Regions from separate parts of the Homo sapiens genome. Here regions 1 and 2 are each linked to region 3. Evidence: promoter capture Hi-C in 16 types of primary human blood cells and fetal thymus (Javierre and others, 2016). All regions are on one chromosome and are shown on one strand. The core of a region is centred on a gene start or on the middle of the fragment in contact, and the rest is flanking DNA. Distances in the headings are between cores, read along the strand shown.

Region 1 (3,478 bases), core at 210-2,709, 560 kb before region 3:
GGCCCCACAGGCAGCACTACACCAGCTGCGCAGCTGTGGATGTTACCTCCCACCCCTCAGCCTTGGGCAGCGTCCCAGCATCCACCTCTGTGGGTGGCCCAGCTCCTGGGAGAAGACTCAGGGGACAAGAGTGGTCAGCTGGGAGACCACATAGGCTCCGGCCCTTGGTCAAGGCCTCAGCGCACAGGAAGCTCAAAACTGAGCATGTCCCACCCCTAAGGCCACCCTTGCCTTCAGAAACCCTTGGTCTGCGTCTCCAGTTATGGATTCAGAGCTAAGAACTCCACCCCATCACACAGTGCGGGAGGTCAGGAGCCCTACCTTTGGGATGTGCTGGCCAGAAGGAGGGAGCTGCACAGAAGGGATCAGGTCTGTGATATGCTGCCCAGCCACGTCCTCCCCAGACACGTACCCGTGAAGATGAGCAAAGAGACTGTCACATGACGTGACGGTGCCCTGGAGGAAAAGCCCCGTGCTTATCATAAAAGCTTCTTGTGCTCCAGCTGTAAATTTAACTAAGCTTCAATATGTTCAAGCCAAAAGCAAGACCCCAACATGACTTCTCCATCGGAAGGGCAAGAGACATATACACATGAATTTGATAAGAGCTTCATCATCTGTCTCCTTCTACCAGAGACGTACCTAAATTGTGGGCCTTCTTGTTCTTCAGGAGCCTGGCCCACACCACAGCTCATTAATAACATCCCAGTTCACATATGAGGGCTGTCTCTAATGCCAGCTACTATCCTGGGGGGTTTACATATATTATCTCATTTAAATGTTGAAACAATCTTATGAGGAGTTATGATTATGCCCCAGTTCACAGGTGAGGAACTGAAGTATAGGAAGTTCGTTCCCTGCCCAAGCACACGCAATCAGCGAGGGTACCACTGGGCAGACCCTCCAGGCTCCTCATCCTCTCTTTCTTCCCAAAGGAATGAGACAGGGACCAGCACTTGCTGAAGAGGAGAACGACGCCGGCTCCAGCGTCCATGAGACATGAGGCAAAGTTGCACACTCACATCGCTCTGGAAAGCGACCCAGGTCGAGACCCTCTCCACGGGCTCCAGGACCACCACGCAGCATAGGCGGCGCTCCTGCCGCATCCTCTTCATCCACACAGACACTGGAATCTTCTCCCCACTACGGCTGATGATGTCCACCTGTGGAAACAGACAGGTTCACACCTGCATGCCATGAACCCAAAAGACCAGTATGGGTGGGGCACCTGCCTCCAGGAGGCCCAAACTCCAGGCACTGCAACGTTTTCAACTTCTGCTTACCTGATTTTCATTTCAGAAATTTACCAAAGCACAAACAAGATTTCCCATACTGAACATTAAAATCTCCAAGTGCAAGTTTTATCAAGAGAGTAGATTTCATTCTCAGTTCATGGTAATATTGCAGGGTGAAAAAAGCAGTATCTGTTATTTCTTAAAGAAACAGACACCAACACATGGTGAATATCTTAGTTTTTTTCTTCTTAGTAGTCAGTTTCTTGAACCAGTGATTTTCTGATACAATTGGTCCTAAGCCTGTGACATCAGTTCAGTTCAAGCAATGGGGTCTTCTGTGTGAAAGCCACACACTAGGTGGGAAACAGGCAACCTGGAGGATCTGGATGACTACTAGAGCCTCAGATCATACCCCAACCTCCACTGCCCTCCAACGCTACTCCCCCAGTCCCCGACCGGCTGACGAGGGGAAACCCTACAATCAGCCATGCCTTGGGCTTTTTCCATGCCTTGGGCTCAGTCCTCCACATCCAACTCAGCTCACCTGTCAACATCCAGGTTGGACACATGGCACAGGTGAGAGAATCAACACTGTCTAGGGAAATGCTTCCAGGCCAACACCCCCGCCCGCTCCCACAAACACCAAACAGAATGTAAAAATCAATAGACAATAAAACCATATTACTCTTGAGCATCTGATGTGCTGCCCGGCAGGACTGCAAAACATTAGTGAAGCTACAGCCCTCAGACAAAGCAAGGGCCACCCACGACACCTCCCAGGAGTCCAGCCACAGCCACAGTGTCCATTCCTGCGATGATTCGTTCTTAAAGGGCCCCCACCCCCACTGCAGCTGAAGCGGGGAAACGGCGCCTGGGATGACATTTTCAGCTGAAGAAGCTGAGATGTCCTGGTGCCACCCAACCCCCAGCAGAGCTCCTGGTAGGGAACACTGAGCTGTTCCTGCCACACACTGCTGGTCTTGAGGCCAGACTGAACGCTGCACCCGCATCCACTCACCACCGTGCCAAACACCACCGCAGCGTGGCCGTCGGCCTCCATGTGCTCCTCGCTGAGGGCCTCCACCACATCAGAATCTGACCTCAGAAAGAACTGCGTGAGCTTCTGGCCAATCAGGTCCTGGCTGCTGTACCCCAGGAGCCCGCAAGCTTTGTCGTTAGCAACCAGGATCTGAGGAATCACAAAGAGGAGCAAGGATGCAGACATCCCCAGCAGCTCCACCAGCTGCCCAGAACAGCCCAGGACGACCATGCAGAAGCCAGCCTTTTCCTGACAGACAGGGTCTCACTCTGTTGCCCAGGCTGGAGTGCAGTGGCGCAATCAGAGCTCACTGCAGCGGCGCAATCAGAGCTCACTGCAACCTTGAACTCCTGGGTTCAAGTGATCCTCCTGCCTCAGCCTCCCTGGTAGCTGGGACTACAGGTGTGTGCCACCGCACCTGGCTAATTTCTTTGTAGAGATGGGATCTTGCTATGTTGCCCAGGCTGGTCTTGAACTCCTGGGCTCAAGCAAACTTCCCACCTCCCGAAGTGCCCAAATGTTTTTCTAATTGCATTAAAACACACAAATCCCAGGTTTAAGGCACAAACCACAAATCCACATCTACACAGCTGGATCTAAAAGAGAAGCAAATACCTCTGTGGTCTTGGCATCCACCGTGAAGATGGCCTTGTTAGGGTTGCACACAGGGGCCGGAAGCAGAGGTGAGGACCACCCTGAGGACAGTCCCCGCAGCAGGGAGCAGCAGGACACACTGCCCCGCGGTTCGGACGGGTCCGTGTGCTCAGGGGCAGCAGGGCAGTGCAGTTTACTTGTACAAATATTCTGGGCAGCCAGTGATGATAGACAATAGGAGCTCCATCTGTCTTCTGAAAAGAGAAGCGAAGCGAAGCTTTAGACTTCACACAGCTGCCAGAGTCCACCTTCTGAAACAGGCAAAGCACACAGCCCTTGCCCTCAACTCCTGCAAAAAGATCTAAGGATTAAGTCAGTCTGCACAGCTAACACACACTCTCACTGCGTGTCTGAACATGGTCCCCAGAATCCACTTAGGCAACCACCAGGTCCACTCGGAAGCACAAACAGCATAAGATCAACACTTCTGTGTCTAAATTACACTCAAAGCCAGGCGTGCCTATAATCCCAGTTCTTTGGAAGGCTGAGGCAGGAAGGTTGCTTGAGTTCAGGAGTTCAAGACCAGCCTGGACAACACAGCGAGACCCTG
Region 2 (3,798 bases), core at 1,276-3,775, 600 kb before region 3:
GGCTGAGATGGGTGGATCACCTGAGGTCAGGAGTTCGAGACCAGCCTGGCCAATATAGTGAAACCCTGCCTCTACTAAAAATACAAAAATTAGCCAGGTAACGTGATAACGCACACTTGTAATCCCAGCTACTCGGGAGGCTGAGGCAGGAGAATTGCTTGAACCCAGGGAACGGAGGTTGCAGTGAGCCGAGATTGCACCATTGCACTCCAGCCTGGGTGACAGAGCAAGATTCCATCTTAAAAAAAAAAAAAAAAATGGAGTGGAAAAATTGTCAGCCTCAGCCTCAGAACTTTCCTCTCTGGGTTCTTTCTGCAAAGAACGTTTGCAAAATACCAGACCTTCCACTGCCATGAAGTCAGATGAGCTTTAATTATTTTTTCTTATAAAGAAGTAACAGTTCTTAGAAAGCTCAGACTATGCATTCTCAACCCATTAAACACCTGTCTGCAAACACCATTGTGGCCGAACGCAGTGGCTCATGCCTGTAATCCCAACATTTTGGGAGGCCGAGGCGGGCGGATCATGAGGTCAGGAGTTTGAGACCAGCCTGGCCAACATAGTGAAACCTCGTCTCTACTAAAAATACAAAAATTTAGCCAGGCGTGGTGGTGGGCACCTGTAATCCCAGCTACTTGGGAGGCTGAGGCAGAATTGCTTGAACCTGGGAGGCGGAGGTTGCAGTGAGCTGAGATCGCACCATTGCACTCCAGCCCAGGCGACAGTATAAGACTCTGTCTCTAAATAAATAAACAAACAAACAAACACCATTCTATAACATCCTCTGTGTTATAAGCACCATAAACACTACAAGGTAGGGGTTCTTAAAACATCAGAAAACTCTTTGAATTCTGAAGAGTGAACATCACTGACTTTAATACACACCTGTAAAACCCTTGTACCTTGAATGTCCCTGATAGAGGAGGGTCCTCCCCCACCAACTCCATCAGTCACTTGTGGTGGCAGCGAGGCTCAGGCAGCACTTTCTGAAGAAAGGGATGGCAATAGCCCATATCCTACTAGATGGGACTAAAATTAACTCTGATCATCCCAAAACAGTTGAGTGCCTCCTAAATAACCACTAGAAATAGCTCAGAACCACGCAGGAGGCAGCCTGGCTCCCAGGCAGCTTCCAGAGGGTTCTGGGCAGGAGTCTCAGAATGTGGAAAAACCGTCTGCAAGTGATGACATGTGGGAAAAGGGTAGGGGTTTAGGTTTTTGGTTTTTTTCCTACTGTCTCAGCAGGGGAAAAAAATGAAAGGTTCTGCTCTCACCTCTAGCTATTCCCTCCTCTCTAACACAGACATGAAATAAAACAATCCTAAGTACTTGACCTAGCCAAGTCTGTCTGAGGGGGATGGACTGGAGTCTAAGGGAGGGAAGCAGCCAGTTGAGTATCTGACAAACACCCTGGAACCTGAGCAGCTCGGAGGAATACAGGGCTGGAGCCCCTCACACAGACCAGAGGTGGGGGCTGGGCCAGGAAGCCCCTCATGTGGACAGAGGTGGGAGCTGGCTGGCCATGGGATATTTGGGGACTGCTGGCAGTGAGCCAGCCACGTGTTTGACAGCAGAGTCTTGCTACAGACAGAAGGGAGGTCCCTGAGGAAGCCACCCTCCCCCGTCTTACCAGATGGAGCAAGCTTCAGAGCCCTAGGCCCACCCCTGGCAGGGCCTGCTTGTAAAAGGAACCCCAGAATGGCCAAGGCTAGACTTCTCTCCAACTGTGGCAAGTGGGGTGCACACATGGAAAAATGAGGAAACCAGGTATTTCTCACACTTAGCACACGGGAACAGTTCACAACATCCAAGTCAGGATAACTGTTTACTAACAAAGGTGCTTTAATTTGAAAAGCATTTGAGGAAATAAATTAATGAAATAGTCTGGCCATTTGACTAACCAGTTCTACAAATTTCACATATCCGTCACTCAGATGAGCATATACCAAGTCAGAGGAAACAAAACATGCACATATACAAAAGTAGAAAGAGAAAACACTCATGCCTTCAGAAGTTCACAAATTAAAAGCCCTTTAATAATATAAAACAGTTGAACACTGGAATGTTTTTTTCTAGGTCATGAAAAAAGTGAATTCCAAATCTATGTAATAAATCTAAAATAATACAGCATCACTGTCTTCTGTTCTGGTGTTTATCAAACCTGCACATGAGTTTTTAGAAGGTGAATTGGGGATGCTTCAGAATGTATTTTCTCCAAACAGATGGAGCCTGAAAACTGTGTGATTTTCCAAACCAAGTGGAGAAAAGCAGGAAGAAATTGGTGTTTAGCTGGTCAGCAGACGGGGATCCCCGGGATGCAAACAGCCTTGGCCATTAGGAGCCTCGCCTGGAACGGGGCCCCCACAAAGCTCCTGAGCCTGGGCCACATCACTCAGGCTCCTGTTCCCCATCTCCAGGCTCGCAGCGGACAGAACTCCACTTTCTGAAGAAACAAGAAGGTAACTGTATCACGTGCTAACAACTTAAGGTTCTAAAATACTTTGCTTCTCACTTGAAGAAGTCCTAGAACAAAAGCCTAAGGTGAGGCCCTCAGAAATCCAACTGGCAATGTCCCGGAAGTACAGATCCTGCCAAGGTGGGGATCTAAGCCCAGGGCCATCAACCGCAGCTTGGTCCAAATGCTCTGAGCAGTGGTTTTGGCTCTGTGGCCAGAGCCTTGTCTGAAGAGCCCTCGGCCCCGCCGGCTGCTAGAGAATCACTCTCAGCATCTGTGGCCTCATCCTCCCCTTCGGCCCAGTCAGACCATCACCAGCTGCATTCCTCAAACCATCTTTGAGGGTTCCGACCCCTTCTGCCAGGAGCTCCCATGACACCTGCCCACCCTCCAAGGTCCAAAGCCACACCCTGAACCCCAGTGGTGTCCAGAGGCCTCGGGACAGAATCAAACCCCCTCTCACAGGTGACAGGTCAGCTATAGGCCCTGACATTTGTGTCCAAGACAGCATGGGGGAGAGAGCCTCCTTTTCCTCCTTTTGACCTAGGAAGGCAGCCTGGGGACCTCGTTATTCCAAGTGAAGTCATGTGGGGTGGAGGGATGCTGAGAAGCCTCACCTGGCTTGTTTACTCGAAACACCTCTTCCCATGTATAGTCAGCAAGATTCACAGGCTGTGTTACCCACGGGTCTGTCACCAGCTTCTCCAAGGTGGTGCGTCTCTCAGGGACTGGCTGCAGCAGCCCAGACACAAGGCTCATGAGTTCTGGGGACACAAAGAACACAGATGGTAGGTCCAGATTGGGATGAAGTGGAGCACATCTCAGATTCCTGGGTGCTCACCACCCCCCCGCAGAGCCTCTGACTGGGCAGGTGGCGGCCCAGGAACCTCTAGTGCAGGGCCCAGCTGTGCTTGGACAGAAGCTGCAGGAAACATTCATTGCCTCTGAAATGAAAGCTTGGAGTTCAAGATGCCATCCCACTCAACCAAAATCCAGGTGGTGCAGAGGTTCCTAACTGCTCTATTCTCAGGGGCTCTGGCAATGCAGAGCTGTGAATAACGCAGGGTTAACATGACAGGTGAGGGGATGCCAGCACAAGCTGAGAGAAGCCCCCAGCCTTGCATCTGGATTCGGGCCCCAGTTCCTTTAACCATGTAGGCACCAAGTCAACAGGGCCACTTGGAGCCTCCCTGTCCTGACTGCAAGTGTGTTTCTCACAAGAGGGCCTCTAAGATCCAAAGAGGAACATTAACAAAAACTAAATTATCAAGATGTTTTAAAGTCATATGCAAATTATTTGATGAATAGAAAAGAAACAAATGAGACTGTTGATATGGACAGAG
Region 3 (3,836 bases), core at 56-2,555:
TTCCTGCCTCAGTCTCCGAGTAGCTGGGAGTACAGGCGCCCGCCACCACGCCCGGGTAATTTTTGTATTTTTAGTAGAGACATGATTTCGCCACGTTGGCCAGGCTGGTCTCAAATTCCTGCCCTCAAGTGATCCGCCCGCCTCGGCCTCCCAAAGTGTTGGGATTACAGGCGTGAGCCACCGTGCCGAGTCTGAAACATATTTTAATTATGTTTCTCCAGTATTTTTTTTTTCTTAAAATTTTCTTTTTTTTTTTTGAAGACAGAGTCTTGCTCTGTCGCCCAGGCTGGAGTGCAGACGCGATCTCAGCTCACTACAACCTCCGCCTCCCGGGCTCAGCCTCCGGAGTAGCTGGGACTACAGGCGTGCGCCACCACGCTTGGCTAATTTTTTTTTTTTTTTGTATTTTTAGTAGAGTCGGGGTTTCAACACGTTGGCCAGGCTGGTCTCAAATTCCTGCCCTCAAGTGATCCGCCCGCCTCGGCCTCCCAAAGTGATGGGATTACAGGCGTGCGCCAGCGCGCCGGCCTTCTCCAGTATTTTTGCATGCATCTTACGGCACACCTTTGCACGCCATCTTATTAACTATATCATACTGCCGCACGTGCCTTTTCGGCCAAGGCATCCAGATGGTGCGGGTCCTGCCTGCCTCGAGAGGTGGCAGCAAAGGAGCCAGTGCCCTCACTGGTGCTGGGCGGGGCGGCCGCTTTCCTCGGAGGGAAGGGGCGGCGTTGGCGGGGGAAGGGCGCCAGGGCCCAGGCCCTGAGGGAGGGGCAGCTCGCCCGGGCCACGCGGTGCCGGCCCTCGGCTCAGGCCGGGCTGAGGCCCCGGGGGCTCGGGGTCCGGGGGAAAGGCGCTGAGCCAGACAGGTCCCAAGGAGCCTTCGGGAAGGGAGGGCCTCGTGGCGGCCTGTCCGGGACCCGGCCGGGAGCAGGGGTCGCGTGGGCGCCGTCAGGACGGGCGTGAGGTCCCCGGGACCACGTGTTTGCGTTTGGTGGCCCAGGGGTCGCTGACAGGTGCGGAGGGGAGACGCCCACCTGGGTGCCCTGGGCCGCACGCCGGGCGGTGGGGCCGGGAACCCCTGCTCCTCCTCGGCCTCCGATCCGCTGCGGCCCTGGGTCCTGCTCGCTGCCCGACGCCGCTGCCACAACCTCCGCCCGGGCCCCGCAGCCCGCCGCCCGCCGGAAGCTGAAAGGCGTGTCCGACCCCGCCCCCGGGCGCGACCAATCAGCGCGCGCGACTCATGAATAGTGAGCGCGCTGGCACCGCCCCGCCCCCGCCTCCCGCGGCACCGCCCGCCCGCGCAGACCCCGAGCGCGGCCGCGGACGAAGATGGCGACCGCCATGTACTTGGAGCACTATCTGGACAGTAAGCGCGCCCCACGGGCCCCGCGCCCGCCGCCCACGCGGAGTCCTCCGTGCCGCAGCCCCCCGCGCGCCGGGCACCGCATGCAGACCCCGTGGGCTCGGGAGGGCGGCGGGCGCGGCCGGGCGCGACGGGGGGCGCGCGGACGGGGCGGGGCAGGGCCGCAAGGGAGGGGAGGGCGCGGGGGGCGGGCGCGGGGGGTCCCGCCGGCTGGGTCGCGCCAATTCCAGGTGCGTCACGGCGGGGCGGGGCCTGGCGATGCTGGGCGGGGCTTGCGGCCTCGACCCCGCCCACATATTAGGTCCCGCCCCTACCCAGGCCCCGCCTCATCTCCGCCCCCAGCTCCGGCCCCGGCCCCGCCAGGTCCCGCCCGTCCCTGTCCCGTCTGCAGGAGGAGCTGGCGCCCGCTGCGGGGCTCCGGGCCTTGGGGGCTCCGGGGTCTGGGCCTCCGCCTGGCTGTGCGCCCGTGTGCGCCGGCCTCTTGTGTGACCGCGGCTGGGGAGGGCGTGCGGGCCGCGGGGCGTCTCTCCCCGGCACTGGGGACTGCGGCGCGGAGGCGGGGAGGGCGGTGCCGAGTCGGCCCTGGTGGGCGGGCTGTGCTGTTTCCAGGTGGCAGCAGGTCGGCGCCCCCAGCGGCTGAGCGGACGGTGCTTTCCCTCACTTTACACACCAGGGAAGGTCCAGCGCTGCCGAGCAGCCTGCTCAGGGTCTCCCGCTCGTAGAGGGGCAGACCCCACGCGGGACCCCTGACGTCGGCCCGGGATGGGCACAGCTTTGGGGTCGCGGTGTTTGGGGTTGTGCCGGGTGGCTCTGGAGGGCCCTTGTGGGGGCGCTGCACTGGGGATCCTCATGGTCTTCGGCCTGGCACCCGCCCAGGGGCTGAGACAGTGGCGAGTGAGCCGTGGCCTGGAGCTGGAGACCGCTGCCCTAGAGGGACGCCCGATTCTGCCCATGTGCTCCGCTGTCTCTTGGGGGTCTGAGTAGTGGGGGGTTCCCTGGGTAGAAGAGTCAAGCTGGGGAGCACGCTGGAGGGGAGGCCTTCTCTATCCTGGTGCCCAGCCAGTGGGCTGGCCTCCCAAGGAGGGTTGACTTTGTGTGTGTCTGGGAGGCTGTGCCAGCCGGGAGGCTGTGCCTCTGTCCTCTAGGGGAGCTGGGAAAACACTGGGGCTGGAAGCATCAGATGCATAAGATAGAGTTAGGTTTAAAATGATTGCCTGGTAACTGTGAACAGCAGATGGGAGGGTGGCCAAGACTGGAGGAGGCAGCCCCCCTTAGGAGCCTGTGTCAGCTGTGCAGGGGGCGGAGGTTGGCCTGGTCTAGGGGGTAACAAAGCAGACGCGAAAGCAGCACGGGGGTCCTCCTGGCAGACTGTGGGGAATGGTTGCGCTAGCCACAGGGACTATTTAAGTAAAATTAAAAATTGAATGGCGTTAGTCCCATTTCCAGTGCTCAGTAGCTCCCTATGGCCACCACTGTCTTGGGCAGCTCAGAGAGAACATTTCTTTTCTTTTTCTTTTTTTGATTTTTTTTGAAATGGAGTCTCACCCTGTTGCCCAGGTTGGAGGGTATGATCTCAGCACACTGCAACCTCCACCTCCCAGGTTCAAGCAATTCTCATGCCCTAGCCTCTCGAGTAGCTGGGACTGTAGCTGTGCACCACCACGCCTGGATAATTTTTGTATTTTTAGTAGAGACAGGGTTTCACCATGTTGGCCAGGCTGGTCTTGAACTCCTGACCTCAACTGATTTGCCTGTCTTGATCTCCCAAAGTGCTGGGATTACAGGTATGAGCCACCACGCCCATCCGAGAGAGGAAACATTTCTATCCTTGCATAAAGTCGCGTGGGCAGCGTGGCTACACTGCTCAATGCACTGGATTTCTGGGTAAAGTAGGGGAAGATCAAGGAGGACCCAGGGGATTTTGGCTTGAGCCTTGGAAGATGCTGCTCACTGAGGGGGGGCAGCCTAGAGGGTGGGGTCAGTTGGCCTCCCCTGCCTGTGCTGTTGGTTTCCAAGTTTCCCTCTCCCTTCTTTGACTTCTGACAGCTTCCGAAGTGTGCACACAGCCTCTTGTCAGCACTGTTTGGTACCTGCATCTAAAAATGAGATCACAGTCCTTCCGCTCCGCAAACCCTGACAGAGACAGAATACAGAGTGGGCTTGTAGACTTGAAGTATAAAACTTTTGGCCAGTCCTGGTGGCTCACACCTGTAATCCCAGCACTTTGAGAGGCCGAGGTGGGCGGATCACCTGAGGTCAGGAGTTCGAGACAAGCCTGGCCAACCTTGTGAAACCCCGTCTCAACTAAAAATACAAAAACTAGCCGGGCATGGTGGCATGTGCCTGTAATCCCAGCTACTCAGGAGGCGGAGGCGTGAGAATCACTTGAACCTGGGAGGTGTAGGTTGCAGTGAGCCAAGATCGCACCACTGCACTCCAGCCTGGGCAACAAGAGTGAAACTCCATCTCA

Evidence for each region. Contacts are between HindIII fragments. The CHiCAGO score rates a contact against its expected background, and 5 or more counts as called.
Region 1: a fragment that was not itself captured here is called in contact with the fragment with the promoter of ING5 in region 3 in 1 of 17 cell types (neutrophils); the score reaches 6.8 in neutrophils.
Region 2: a contact is called between a fragment that was not itself captured here and the fragment with the promoter of ING5 in region 3, in 1 of 17 cell types (neutrophils). The highest score is 5.7, in neutrophils.

The regions. Positions count from the first base shown.
Region 1 is chr2:241,137,632-241,141,109 of GRCh38, forward strand. It overlaps PASK (PAS domain containing serine/threonine kinase), which reads right to left. Exons shown (of 18, transcript NM_015148.4): 3 at 2,890-3,122; 4 at 2,254-2,424; 5 at 1,023-1,163; 6 at 322-456. Among named protein-coding and RNA genes, the nearest start is that of PASK, 10 kb to the right of the region's middle. RefSeq lists an enhancer at 2,223-2,723. The HindIII fragment of the contact is 1,882 bases long and covers 519-2,400 here.
Region 2 is chr2:241,104,281-241,108,078 of GRCh38, forward strand. It overlaps PASK (PAS domain containing serine/threonine kinase), which reads right to left. Exons shown (of 18, transcript NM_015148.4): 17 at 3,073-3,219; 18 at 1,819-2,443. The coding sequence ends at 2,286. Among named protein-coding and RNA genes, the nearest start is that of MTERF4, 3.9 kb to the left of the region's middle. The HindIII fragment of the contact is 1,768 bases long and covers 1,642-3,409 here.
Region 3 is chr2:241,700,734-241,704,569 of GRCh38, forward strand. ING5 (inhibitor of growth family member 5) reads left to right here and starts at 1,306. Exons shown (of 8, transcript NM_032329.6): 1 at 1,306-1,369. The coding sequence starts at 1,333. RefSeq lists silencers at 600-1,419, 1,162-1,325, 1,510-2,069 and enhancers at 724-1,556, 1,795-2,424. The HindIII fragment of the contact is 17,390 bases long and covers 1-3,836 here.